5 separate regions of the Homo sapiens genome follow, and regions 1, 2, 3 and 4 are each linked to region 5. The links are contacts of gene promoters, found by promoter capture Hi-C in human tissues and cell types (Jung and others, 2019). All regions are on one chromosome and are shown on one strand. The core of a region is centred on a gene start or on the middle of the fragment in contact, and the rest is flanking DNA. Distances in the headings are between cores, read along the strand shown.

The links. The method cuts DNA at HindIII sites, captures the fragments that hold promoters and counts their contacts. A contact is called where the count stands out against the background at its distance.
Region 1: a contact is called between a fragment that was not itself captured here and the fragment with the promoter of C21orf91 in region 5, in 2 of the 25 tissues and cell types used here (dorsolateral prefrontal cortex and spleen).
Region 2: a contact is called between a fragment that was not itself captured here and the fragment with the promoter of C21orf91 in region 5, in 4 of the 25 tissues and cell types used here (bladder, lymphoblastoid cells, mesendoderm cells and 1 more).
Region 3: a contact is called between a fragment that was not itself captured here and the fragment with the promoter of C21orf91 in region 5, in 2 of the 25 tissues and cell types used here (aorta and lymphoblastoid cells).
Region 4: a contact is called between a fragment that was not itself captured here and the fragment with the promoter of C21orf91 in region 5, in 2 of the 25 tissues and cell types used here (lymphoblastoid cells and spleen).

What each region holds. Positions count from the first base shown.
Region 1 is chr21:17,914,911-17,917,610 of GRCh38, forward strand. It overlaps a transcript of CHODL not described here. Among named protein-coding and RNA genes, the nearest start is that of LINC03147, 31 kb to the left of the region's middle. The HindIII fragment of the contact is 4,822 bases long and covers 1-2,700 here.
Region 2 is chr21:17,732,774-17,735,473 of GRCh38, forward strand. No RefSeq gene overlaps it. Among named protein-coding and RNA genes, the nearest start is that of C21orf91-OT1, 58 kb to the right of the region's middle. The HindIII fragment of the contact is 6,428 bases long and covers 1-2,700 here.
Region 3 is chr21:17,692,761-17,695,460 of GRCh38, forward strand. No RefSeq gene overlaps it. Among named protein-coding and RNA genes, the nearest start is that of BTG3, 81 kb to the left of the region's middle. The HindIII fragment of the contact is 9,859 bases long and covers 1-2,700 here.
Region 4 is chr21:17,715,128-17,717,827 of GRCh38, forward strand. No RefSeq gene overlaps it. Among named protein-coding and RNA genes, the nearest start is that of C21orf91-OT1, 76 kb to the right of the region's middle. The HindIII fragment of the contact is 7,162 bases long and covers 1-2,700 here.
Region 5 is chr21:17,818,065-17,820,764 of GRCh38, forward strand. It overlaps C21orf91 (chromosome 21 open reading frame 91), which reads right to left and starts at 1,292. Exons shown (of 5, transcript NM_001100420.2): 1 at 1,239-1,292; 2 at 128-261. The coding sequence starts at 254. All of the region lies in intron 2 of LOC124900465 (a long non-coding RNA gene), which reads left to right. RefSeq lists a silencer at 907-1,686 and an enhancer at 1,937-1,986. The HindIII fragment of the contact is 15,791 bases long and covers 1-2,700 here.

The DNA.
Region 1 (2,700 bases), core at 101-2,600, 97 kb after region 5:
AGGTTTTGGTAAAGGCAGGAAGATAAATCGAGAATACACATGTGGGAGGGGTTGAAAGTAGGTGTAAGACAAGTGGCCTGCACATTTTGGCGTGAGGAGGGGAAGGAACTGGTAGAGATGGTGGGTGGGTCATTGACTGAATGGCCTAGTGGTGGCATCTTCAGGTGAGGCACATATATGAGGAGGAGAGGAGAGTTCTTCCTAAGGGGCAAGTAAAGAGAAGGTGAATAAAAGGAAGGCTGCTATTCGAGAATGGTGCAGTGGAGAGGAAACAGGAAAAAAAATTGAGGAAGATTTCTCCCATTTAATGAAGTACTTCAGTATGTCTAATTGGAAGTATACATTATTAGTGGAAGTCTTTGAAATGAATTCCTCAGCAAAGCCTAAGGTAGTTTAAGAATTTAATCTCTGTTTTTCCTCTTTCACTCATGGATATGCTTATGTATTATTATCAAGTGGACCAGTTGATTCTCTAGTTGGTTTTGTTGTGACATAAAATGTCTGTTTAAGTGATCTTTTTACGTGGTAAATATGGTACTTTATAGATTTTTGAAATCTCAACTTTTTCTGTCCTGATATTTGCCTTCATCCTTTTTCCCTTTCCTCTCTTCAAGAAGCTGTGCTGTTTGTGGTCATTTCCTATAGAGGAATGTGGAGCATGAAGGTTTGGTGAAAACATATATGTTTCCATTCTTTCTCAGGCTTTTCTTTTCCAGAATGCTAAGCCTCAAAGAGAATAAAAAGCCAGAGCTGAGGTTTTGAGGAGGTTAAAGCTTTTCCAGGCAGAGAGAAAAATTCAGATGAATTTGTGAAATTTGTGAGTAAAGTGATCTGTGCCTTGCTCCCTAGGAATAACACTGGAGAGATGAGAAGATCCCATCTGCCTCTGTCGCCTGGATGAATCTTGACTTACCCGCTGTGCTGCCTGTCTTTGAGCTTATAAGCCTATAACCTAACAATGCTTCAGTCATTAGAGATATACATTCCGGTATATAGGACTATTAAGAACGCTTAACCATTCTCCTTAAGTGTCATATTTGGCAATAAATGACCGCATGGCATGTCTAGGTACCTGGTACACCTTAGACAATCATACAGATGTTCTGTACCCCCAGCATGGTATGAATGTAGAGTGAGTCTTAATCGCCAGTAGTCTCCCAGAAGCAGCAGAGATTGTGTTGGACCTGAAGGAGCCATGCAGACAGGGATGAGGCATGTCTCCTTCAGAGGAGGCAATGGGTATACCAGTGTGTGTCCCCAGGCTCAGATTACACACAGAGCCAGATGGTCTCCTTCTGATGCTTGGATACCGCAAATAGCCCCAGAACTTAAATGCAACCTCAGAGGAAAGTGGCAAGGGAGCCCAGATTAACCGAGATTAAGAAAAAGAACCTTATTTTTTTCCAGTTTATATCCAGATTGTCTCCAAGTCATTTATTACAAATTCATCTTTTTTTCAACTGATTGAAAACAACATCACATGATATACTAAAAATTATTTTATATATTTAGGTCTATATTTGGGCTTTCTTTTCTATCCCAGTGAATTATTTATCTATTTTTGAACAGGCACTGTATTTTCTTAATGTTGTAGCTTTATAATATATTTTATGACTTGTAGAGCTACTTCCTCCTTGTTACTGTTTTTTTTTTAGATTTTTTAAAATTATTTTTGCTCATATTTTTATAGAAACTTTAAGATTAGCTTCAGTAGTTCAAATTATTGCTAGTATTTTTACTAGAATCAATTTAAAGTTATGAATTAATGGAGGTTTCCAGCTTTATCATGTTGATTTTTCCTATTCAGAAACATGGTATGCTTTTTTTATTCGTTCATACCTATTTTTGTTGTTGTTGTTCATTACTAGTGTTACATAGTTTCTTCACATACATTTTGCACATTTCTTATTAGGTTTCCTGTGTATAAGTCAGAGTCCCAGCAAGAAAGGTATAGCAAATATTCCAATGGGCTAATGGAGGGGAGTTTGATGAAGGGATTATTTTCAAAGGTGAGGAAAGGGTTAAGGAGACTCAACAAGGGACAGTGTAAAGGCTAATTTTAGGTGTACACTTGACTGCATTAAGTAATATCCAGAGAGCCGGTAAAGCATTATTTCTGGGTCTATGAGGGCGATTTTGGAAAAGATTGACATTTGAGCCAGCAGACTACGTAAGGAAGATCCACTCTCACTGAATGTGAGCGAGCACCATCCAATCAGCTGAGGGCCCAGATAGAACAAAAAGGCAGAAGAAAATCAGATTCACTCTCTCTCTTCTGGAGCTGAAACAACTTTCTTTTCCTGCCATAGGACATCAGGACCCCAGGTTCTCTGGTCTTGGGACTCTGAGACTTGCACCAGGAATCCTGCCCAGGCTCTCAGGCCTTTGGACTCAGACTGAGCTACTTCACTGGCTTTCCTGGTTCTCCAGCTTGAAGATGGCAGATCGTGGGACTTCTCAGCCTCCATAATTGAGTGAGCCAATTCCCTGGTAAGTCCCCTCTCACGTATTTATATCTATATCCTTATACTATTTGTTCTGTTTCTCTGAAAAACCCTGAAGAACACAGCAGTAAAATAACCTGGGGCTAGCGACCACAGAGAGTAACAAGAAGGTGGAAGGAGTGTACCAGACTCTGGAGGGGACACTTGGAAGAGATTCATGCCCTACCCAAGGTGGGGCCATCTGTAGAGGGATGCA
Region 2 (2,700 bases), core at 77-2,576, 85 kb before region 5:
TAGAGTACAAATGTATATTCAACAGGCAAGAGGCATAGCATCAAACCTGAAATCAGAAGGTCTTGATTAAAGCCTCCCTTCCACTTCTAAGATGCCTGGAAATATGGTAGATTTGGTTAATTGTCCCCATAATTATCTCTCTTTTTCTTCTTGAGTTGTAGCCCCCCAGCTGGACTACATTCCCCAGCCTTCTCTAGGTTAGGAGTAGCCATGTGGCTAAGTTTGGTTAATGGGTTGCAAATTAAAATGATGTAGGCAATTGTGTACAATGTCCTTAACTATAAGACCCTGCTTCCTAATCTTTCCTCTTCTCTCTGGGCTGGCGTGCAGATGTGGTGGATCCTGTTTTTGCCTAATGACATGGGCAAACCCAAGAACAGCAAGATAGCAGCCTGGGCCCTCAATTTCATGACATCTTTTGACTGTTTCAGGAGAGAAAAATAAGGAATAATTTTTTTTGAGCTATTGCATTTTCGAAATCTTCTTGTAAAAATAGCTTAGCTTGTGCCCTAACCAACACAGTGAAATATGGGCAAGTCACCACCTCTCAAAACTTCCATTTCCTCACGTGTAAAATAAGGGCGATAATATCAAGCCTGGCAACACATGTAGCTGTTCTGAGTATTAAATAAAATCATATAGATCAGAGACGAATACATTGCGTAATATAAAATGTTATTTTATATTTTAGTATTGCAGCTGCCAGAGGGGAGAAAATAAGATGAAGGTTTTATTTCTTATTTTGTACATAAACATTTTATTTTAGAATAAGCTAAGATTAATAGAGAATTAGCAAAATAAGTAGTGAGTTTCTGTATACCCCTCAATCAGTTTCTCTAATGTTAACCATTTACATTCTCATGACAGATTTGTCAAAACTAAAACCCAGCATTGGTACTTTACTACGCTTAGGTTATTTGGATGTCACTAGTTTTTCCATGAATGTCCTTTTTCTCTTCCAGGATCCAATGCAGGAGATAATATTGCATTTGTTGCCATTTCTTTTAGTCTGTTCTGTTCCGAATACTTTCTCAGTCTTTCTTTATTTGTCATGATCTTGACAAATTCAGGGAGTACTGGCCAGGTATTTTGTAGAAGGTTTCTCTGTTTGAGTTTGTGTTTTCATGATTAGATTGGGGTGATCGAGGTGGGGGGATGTGTATTAGTCTGTTCTCACATTGCTGTAAAGAAATACCTGAGACTGGGTAATTTATAAAGAAAAGAGGTTTAATTGGCTCGTGGTTCTGCAGACCGTCTGGGAAGCATGGCAGCTTCTGCTTCTGGGGAGGCTTCTGGAAGATTCCTGTCATGGCAGAAGGCAAAGGGGAGCCAGCGCTTCACATGGCCAGAGCAGGAGGAAGAGAGAGGAGGGAGGTGCCACACACTTTTCAACAAGCAGATCTCACTATTGCAATGACAGCTCCAAGGGGAATGGCGATAAACCATGAGAAACTGCCCCCATGAGCTAATCACCTCTCACCAGGCCCCACCTCCAGCATTGGGGATTACATTTCAACATGAGGTTTGGACGGGGACACAGTTCCAACCCATACTGGGGGAGGATTTTATTTTTAATGAAAAGGGTAATTCGGAATAAAAATGCAGTGTGTGTGAGAGAATAAACCTCGTTTTTCAATTTGATTGCCTTATCAACTCTAATTGCTGTTCTAGGTAGTGTGCCCCTCTTGTAGAGTAGAATTGCTTACTCAAGTTCCATGAGGTACCTTTGAGAATCACCACAATGCATTCAGCCTCCTGTTTTTGTCCTGGTACCTCTGGAGAAGACTGAGCTGCTCTCTGCTGCTTCCTTGTCACAGTCATTCTGGAAAGATGTCTAAAAAGCACTGGGTTGTGAATCTGGAACTTGATAACAGGTAGACCAGTGTCTAGTCCAGTTGAACAGAAAAGAGTATATTTTAGAAAAACTGTCCATTGACAGCTTCGTACCACAGTGAACTGATCAGCAAATCCTCAACACATTGGGACGGTTTTATTGTTATTGTTTTGTTTTTTTTAGAGTGAGGGAGGGAGGTTAGAAGGAAGGGCGAGAGGGAAAGAGGAACAGAGGACAATTAAAGCAAATGTGAATTATAGATGAGAAAAGAGATGGGACTTGGTGAATTTAGAATCTTAAGGAAAACTCTAGGTGAAGAGGGAGACTAAAATCTTTTCTTGGATGCTGACCTATAGTTTGACTCCCCAGATACAATAAGGAGAAAGCAGTATTTTGATTGGGACAGGAATTAACCTATTTCTTTCTATATTTACTTTTCAAGTTGAGCAAGATCTGGGAAAGGGCCTGCTAGCATATTTTGTTTTTACTATTTCAAACAAAGATATCCATCTTGAATGGCATTAGACTTTCAAAAAAATTTAGTGTGTTATTTCTTTCTGGCTATCCAAGGTCTTGATTATACAAAATTCCCATCAGAACACCCACACACTCTCTCTCTCTCTCTCCTATACTTAAGAAAAAAATCTAAATAGAGAAGACTATGACTGAAGAGAGCTTAATTTTGATTAAATTTCGGGGTCCATTCTTTCAAGAGCTCTTTCAGCTAAATGCTCAAATCCAATCTGTGGGTAGCTCTCAGTATCTGTCTTTCTTTGAAGGTCCGGCTCTGCAAATCTTGTCCTGGCCTCCAAAGACAACATCTCAGAGGCCACTTGGTGTATTTCAACTTAATCTTTGTCCACACA
Region 3 (2,700 bases), core at 161-2,660, 130 kb before region 5:
AGTGCTGGTATTATAGGCGTGAGCCACTGCACTCGGCCTCTTGGTTTTTATTTTTACAAGATAGAAGTTCAAGGGATTATTTTGAAGTGAAAATAATAGTGTTACTTTTGGTGGTTAAATGATTGCTTTACCATTCCAAGCACTTTTGACATCCATGGTGGAGGAACTTTGTTTAAGCCAGAAGAAAGGTTTTCCATGCGGCTCTCCTTACAGTGCTTTCTAGAGATGGGCTATGACACACAGCGACACTGGTTAATAATAGTACTTCCCTATGAGTGAACATTTTAAGTATGGTTAAAAAATAGGTAACAAATGATGCAAAAGCAATATAGCTGATCTAGCTAAAATGTTGCTTTATAAAAACTAGATATCTTGGCACCATCTTTGCCTTTGTCCCGTCTGCCTCTAATCTGTGACCAAGTTCTCAGTCCCTTCCTCTCCATTCTCTCTGCCACTACTTTGAGAAATTATTCCTTCACTGTCTTTTTCCCTAAACTATGACACCAGTTTCTTTTTTCTTTTTTTTTTTTTTTTGAGACAGAGTCTCGCACTTTCGTCCAGGCTAGAGTGCAGTGGCGGGATCTCGGCTCACTGCAAGCTCTGCCTCCCAGGTTCACGCCATTCTCCTGCCTCAGCCTCCCGAGTAGCTGGGTCTACAGGTGCCCGCCACCGCGCCCGGCTAATTTTTGTATGTTTTTTTTAGTAGAGACAGGGTTTCACCGTGTTAGCCAGGATGGTCTCGATCTCCTGACCTCGTGATCCACCCGCCTCGGCCTCCCAAAGTGCTGGGATTACAGGCGTGAGCCACCGCACCCGGCCGACACCAGTTTCTAAATGCTTTGCTGCATTTCCCCCTATTTTTTTTTTTAATAATTCATCCTCCTGAAACATAAACCCCAAAATGTCATCCACTTGCTGAAAACCTTGGTTTGCATAACTCTCTGTTTGCAACAACTGTTTTCTCTGGGGTTGTCCATATTTTGGGTTAAGACCTTCACTAATGGCCAGGACTCAGCCCACAGAAAAGGGAGTGTCAGGGTTTGGCAGATCGTTAGGCCCCAGTCAAGTAATTAAGAGTTCTTCCTGCAGCTGCCAGCTTTGGGGAAGACTGGGTCGCTGCTGATGATGTTGAGTCAGGAGCCCAGCTATGTACACTGGGCACATGTGGGGAAGGATGGGAGAAGGCTGGAGCCCCAGTGGTCATGAACTGCCCAAGCACTCAGGCAATGCACAGTAATAGCAGGACTAAGCCCAGAGCCTGCACTCTGATGGATACGAGATAACCAGCCCACTTCCTGCCTCGTTCAGGAACTCTACAAGGCCAAACCTATTCATTTTATTTATTTATTTATTTAGAGATGGAGTCTCACTCACTTTGTCATCCAGGCTGCAGTGCAGTGGCGCAATCTCGGCTTACTGCAACCTCCGCCTCCCGGATTCAAGCGATTCTTCTGCCGAAGGTGTGGTTTGCCCCTCCACACCTGTGGGTGTTTCTCGTTAGGTGGAACGAGAGACTTGGAAAAGAAAGAGACACGGAGACAAAGTATAGAGAAAGAAATACGGGGGCCCAGGGGACCAGCGTTCAGCATACGGAGGATCCCGCCGGCCTCTGAGTTCCCTTAGTATTTAGTGATCGTTCTTGGGTGTTTCTCGGAGAGGGGGATGTGGCAGGGTCATAGGATAATAGTGGACAGAAGGTCAGCAGATAAACACGTGAACAAAGGTCTCTGCATCATAGACAAGGTAAAGAATTAAGTGCTGTGCTTTAGATATGCATACACATAAACATCTCAATGCCTTAAACAGCAGTACTGCTGCCCGCGTGTCCCACCTCCAGCCCTAAGGCAGTTTTCCCCTATCCCAGTAGATGGAATGTACAATTGGGTTTTACACCGAGACATTCCATTGCCCAGGGATGGGCAGGAGACAGATGCCTTCTTCTTGTCTCAACTGCAAAGAGGCGTTCCTTCCTCTTTTACTAATCCTCCTCAGCACAGACCATTTACGGGTGTCGGGCTGGGGGACGGTCAGGTCTTTCCCTTCCCACGAGGCCATATTTCAGACTATCACATGGGGAGAAACCTTGGACAATACCTGGCTTTCCTAGGCAGAGGTCCCTGCGGCCTTCCGCAGTGTTTGTGTCCCTGGGTACTTGAGATTAGGGAGTGGTGATGACTCTTAAAGAGCATGCTGACTTCAAGCATCTGTTTAACAAAGCACATCTTGCACAGCCCTTAATCCATTTCACCCTGAGCTGACACAGCACATGTTTCAGGGAGCACAGGGTTGGGGGTAAGATTACAGATTAACAGCATCTCAAGGCAGAAGAATTTTTCTTAGTACAGAACAAAATGGAGACTCCTATGTCTACTTCTTTCTACACAGACACAGTAACAATCTGATCTCTTTTTCTTTTCCCCACATTCTGCTTCAGCCTCTTGAGCGGCTGGGACTACAGGTGTGCATCACCACACCCAGCTAATTTTCATATTTTTAGTAGACATGGGTTTTTACCATGTTGGCCAGGCTGGTCTTGAACTCCTGACCCCAAGTGATCTGCCTGCTTTGGCCTCCCAAAGTTCTGGGATTACAGGCATGAGCCACTGTGCCTGGCTCCCATTTTAGATATTGGTAACGCAAGCGGGTAAAGACTAAGAATGACTTACTCCATTCTCTAAAGTAGTAGTTCCCAACATGGGC
Region 4 (2,700 bases), core at 5-2,504, 100 kb before region 5:
AAGTGTTGACTGAATTTGAGGAAATCTCTAAGAGACTTCTGAGCAGCTACAATAGTCAGGTGGTCAAATAACACACCAATCTCAAACATAATAAAAGCTTCTCTGCCCTTTGAAGCAGAATTTGGAGTGTTCTGGTAAAACAACTTTCTCAATGCTCTCTGTCATATCTTGTTTTCTTTTTAACATCTCTTAATTTTATGTCTTTCTTTTCTCAATTCTCAGATTGCCAAAGAGAATATTTGAGATCTCATAGACTATTTTTTTTGAGACAGGGACTTGCTCTGTCACCCAGACTAGAGTGCAGTGGCATGATCTCAGCTCACTGCAACGTCCACCTCCTGGGTTCAAGCAGTTTCCTGCCTCATCCTCCCAAGTAGCTGGGACTACAGGCACAAGATGCCCAGCTAATTATTGTATTTTTAGTAGAGACATGTTTCACCATGTTGGCCAGGCTGGTCTCGAACTCCTGATTTCAAGTGATCCACCTGCCTTAGCCTCCCAAAGTGCTGGGATTATAGATGTGAGCCACCGTGCCTGGCCTCATAGACTACCCTCAACAACAAATGTGGATACCCATATTTTCTAGGGGATGATGGTTGGGAGGGATATAATCAAGGATATTTATCCTAATCATTACAGGTTCTGGCTAAGAGCCTTTACTAGAGTAATTCCTCAGTTTCAGATCAAAATTTTAAACTAATTATTGGCGTTGCTTTTTGGATATTGGAATGGCATTCCCCTATGAGCTTCCTAGGGCTACCATAACAAAATACCACAAAACTGGGTGGCTTAAAGCAACAAAAATTTATTCTTTCATGGTTCTAGAGGTTGGAAGTCTGAAATCCAGGTGTTAGTAGGATTGGTTCATTCTGGAGGATGTGAGAAAGAATTTGCTCTATGCCTGTCTTTTAGCTTCTGGTAGCTTCTGGCAATCCTTGGCGTTCATGACTTATAGACACATCACTTCAATCTCTGCCTCCAACTTCACATGGCCATCTCCATTTATGTGTGTCTTCAGGGAGTGTCTTCAACTCCCTTTCCCCTTATGAGGACATCAATCATAAGATTTAGGGCCTATTGAAGTTTATAGCATTGAATGCCTACACAAAACACACACAAAAATAGACAGATCACAAATTAACAACCTAATGTCACATCTCAAGCAACTAGAAAAACAAGAACAAACCAAACCCAAAGCTAGCAGAAGAAAAGAAATAACAACGATCAGAGGAGAACTAAATGAAATTGAGACCAAAAACAAAACCCAGTGGATCAATGAAACAAAAAGTTTGTTCTTTGAAAAGATGAAATTGATAACCACTAGCTAGACTAAGAAAAAAAGAAGAGGGCAGATCCAAATAAACACAATCAGAAATAAAAAAGAAGATATTACCGCTGAGACCACAGAAATACAAAAGATCATCAGAGATTTATAAACAACTGTATGCTCACAAACTAGAAAACCTAAAGAAATTGGATAAATTCCTGGAACATACAACCTTCTAGGATTGAACTGGGAAGAAATAGAAATTATGAACAGACCAATAATGAGTAGTGAGATCAGTAATGAAAAACCCTCCCAGCAACAATAAAAAAAGACCAGGACTGAATGGATTCACAGGCGAATTCTACCAAATGTACAAAGAAGAACTGGTACCCATCCTCCAGAAACTGTTCTAAAAAATCAAGGAGGAGGAAGTTATCTCTAACTCATTCTTTTTAATTTTTTTTTTCTTTTCCTTGAGATAGAATCTCACTCTCCTCCTGGGTTCAAGCAATTCTCATGCCTCTGCCGCCCAAATAGCTGGGATTACAGGTATGTGCCACCATGCCCGGCTAATTTTTGCATTTTTTTTCTTTGGAAGAGACAGGGTTTCGCCATGTTGTCCAAGCTAGTCTTGAACTCCTGGCCTCAAGTGATCCCCCTGCCTCGGCCTCCCAAAGTTCTGGGATTATTTAAGTGAGCTACCATGCCTGGCCCAATTCCCTAACTCATTCTATGAGGCCAGGATCACCCTGATACTAAGGCCAGACAAGGACACAACAACAAAAGAACCTACAGACCAATATCCCTGATGAACGTAGATGGAAAAGTCCTCAACAAAATACTAGCAAACCCAACCCAACAATATATAAAAAAGATAATACACCATGATGAAGCGAGTTTTATTCCAGGGGTACAAAGACAGTTCAACACACATAATCAATAAATGTGATTCATCACATAAACAGAATTAAGGATGAAAACCAGATGATTACCTCAATAGATGCAAAAAAAAGCATTTGATAAAATTCAAAATCCCTTCATAATAAAAACACTTGACAAACTAGACACAGAAGGAGTATACCTCAAAATAATAAAGGCAGTGTATGACAAACCTACAACCAATATTATACTAAATGGGGAGAAGTTGAAAGCATTCCCCCTAAGAACTGGAAGAAGACAAGTATGCACACTTTTACCTCTCTTATATATCATAATACTGGAAGCCTTGGCCAGAGACATAAGGCAAAAAAAAAAAAAAAAAAAAAAAAAGAAGACATTTTTTGGAAAAGAAGTCAAATTATTTCTGTTCACTGATGATATGATCTTATATCTAGAACATCCACAAGACTCCACCAATATCTCTTACACTTGGTAAATGAATTCAGTAAGTATATTGGTCCATTCTCATGCTACTATAAAGGACTACCTGGCTG
Region 5 (2,700 bases), core at 42-2,541:
ATCTCTACACTATTCATACTTAGCACAATTTCCAATCATTGAAGACATTTTAGTTTTACCTTACAATCAGTACAAAGCAGCTGTGTTAAATTCATTCCATAAGATCAAAACTATACTGTGTCCTTACCCTCAATATTTAGCTCAAAACAAATGTGGCAGAAGGAGAGTGTTTCTTTGTCTGTTCCCAGTTTACAAACACTGCAAATGTTGTCATCATTCAAATCAATGTTTACAAACTGCTCCTCTTCGTTCATAGTGCCCCTATTAAGAAACAGAAAAGGAAAGTTACACAATTTCATGAACCTGCCTTTGGGGTAGTTCCCTTTACTGGGAACTTCTAGGAAATAAGGATGCTGTTCAGCTCATTTAAAGCAAAAGCTCCATCAAACAAGCATCGCCATACTTGCACTCCAACATTGCACTTTTCCTGTGGAAAGACACAAAGCTAGTAAAACTTAAAGCCAGGCCATAGGTGACACTATGTCCGTGTCTTTTTTGTCCTATAGTTGATTGGGTTAGTGGCACCTGAAGGAAAGAGATTTGCCGGCATTCTAGTCCTCCTCCTTCGTCCCCCAACCTCGAATAATCAGAGGGCTTAGCAGCGAGGCCTTTTCAGCTACCAGGTTCTGTCAACCTAGTTAACGCTGTGAGAAACAGGAAAAACGACCTGCACGGGACACTGCTTTGCTAACTTCATTGGGGGAACCTCAGATGCGCCTCGCGAACTCGGAGTTGCGAAGCTTCGCATCGAACGGAGATCGGCGGCAGCAAAATGCACGTGGGTACCGAATACCCGGGGAGGGCGTCCCGCCGTGTCCGGGGCAACTACACCGAAGGCCGAGCGGCGGCTTCACGGTACCGGCCGGGCACCGCCGGAGGGGCCCAAGCCGGAGCTGGGAGAGCCGCGGCATCCTGGAGCCCGGCGGGCGGGAGAGCCTCGTCCCATCGCTCCGGGATTCCTCCCAGAGGGAAGAAAGCGTCCGAGGGCCACGGCGGCCGGTCCGCCCAGCCTCAGCGTCTCGGGGAGCCGGGTCCTGGCCCGGCCTTCGGCGTTGGGGGCGCGCGGCCGCCCCCAGGGAGTCGCGGACCCAAGTCCGTCTTTCCGTCGGTCTGTCCGTCGGGGCGCCTGGCGCGCAGCAGCGCGAGGGGCCACGGGGCTCGGAACTCGAAGGAGGCGGAACGATGGGACTGGGGGTCGGGGCTCAGGTGGGATGGGAGCAGGGCTGCGGGGTCTTTACCGTCCGGCTCCGCGGGCCACCACCGCCGTTCCGTGCGGCTCGGGTTCCTCCACTATTGTTTCCGGCCGCAGCAGAGGCGGCCGCCGCGCGCCTGGCCCCGCCCTCTCCCGCCGGCTCCATCCCGTAAAGGCTGCGGGGAGGGTGGCGCGGCCGCGGGCACACCTGCGCGCTCGCCGGGCTGCTGTGGGTCCGCCCCTCCGCTCCTGCACCGACGCCGCACCTTCGCCTCGAGTTCTCCTGTGATCCCGTGTTTCCTGGCCGGAGTTTCTTACCGTTCTCTGGAACGTAGCTCCTCACACACCCCTCCTCGAGGTGCGTAGATAGACGAATCCGTTCCACCTCTCCCTTCAGCCTAGTGCAAACTACTGCCCCGGGGCGGGGGCCGCAGGCGGCGGGGGTAGGAAAGCCGCGGGTGGATGGCAGAACGGGAGAGGTGCGTGGGTGGCACTTTGACTTCAGGAGAAAGAAGCAGAATACTGTCACTGAACTTATAGTTAAGTGCCAGTTGAAGTATCTAACGAAGGAAAAGTTCATATTCAGGTGTCATGATAGAGGCATAATTTCAAATACAGAATCTTTTCAAATACATTATTTGTTGTGGGGCGCCCCTGCCCCCAATATGGTACATCCCTCAACGCCCACGGGAAAAATCCCGAAGCCCCACCTCTTATTTTTAGGTCCTGCTTGGTTCTCAAATTCTTTGCTTGACTTTTGTTTAAGCTATTCTGTTTTTTTTAGGGTATGGTTCTTGCAGTACTTTCACTTACATTTTCCATTGTAGTCCTCACAGTAACCTACAGAGGAGAAACAGGAACTGTTCTCTCATGTTGCAGCCTACGAGTAATTGACCCAGGTTATCACAGTTGGTTAGAAAAAGGCTGGGACTTGAACCGAAGGCTACTGACCTAAGATCAATGTTATTTTCTACAGCATCATATGTATGTGTTCTGGTTGCACTCACATAGAAAGAGGGCTAGCCTGTCAATCTACATGTAGGCATTCTTGAACTGATGGTTAGGAATGGACTGTCTAGATCTTGGAAACTTCTGGGCCAAATTAGCACTCCAGTTATGGCATTTGTGCCTCGCAGGAGCGATCTGTGTCCTTGCCACCTAAATTGTAGTAGATGAACAAACAACATTGACATTACTTGGTTTCCTGTTAGAAATGTAGAATCTCAGGCCCCACTCGAGATTTCCTAAATCAATACTTGCACTTTAACAAGACCGCCAGGAGATTCCTATGTTCATCGAAGTTTGAGATGCACTAATTGAAATGAAAAGCCTGTGCTTTTTCTCTTCGAATTTCTCATTCTAGGTAACTACGACTAAGATACCTTGCATGTTGGATTCTACCCATCTTTTCAATAAAAAGCATTCTTTTAAAAAGGACTCTTTTAAAGTGATTCAATAAAAGTGTTCTAAAATCACTAAAATTTAAAAATTGAAACAAGTTATTTTCA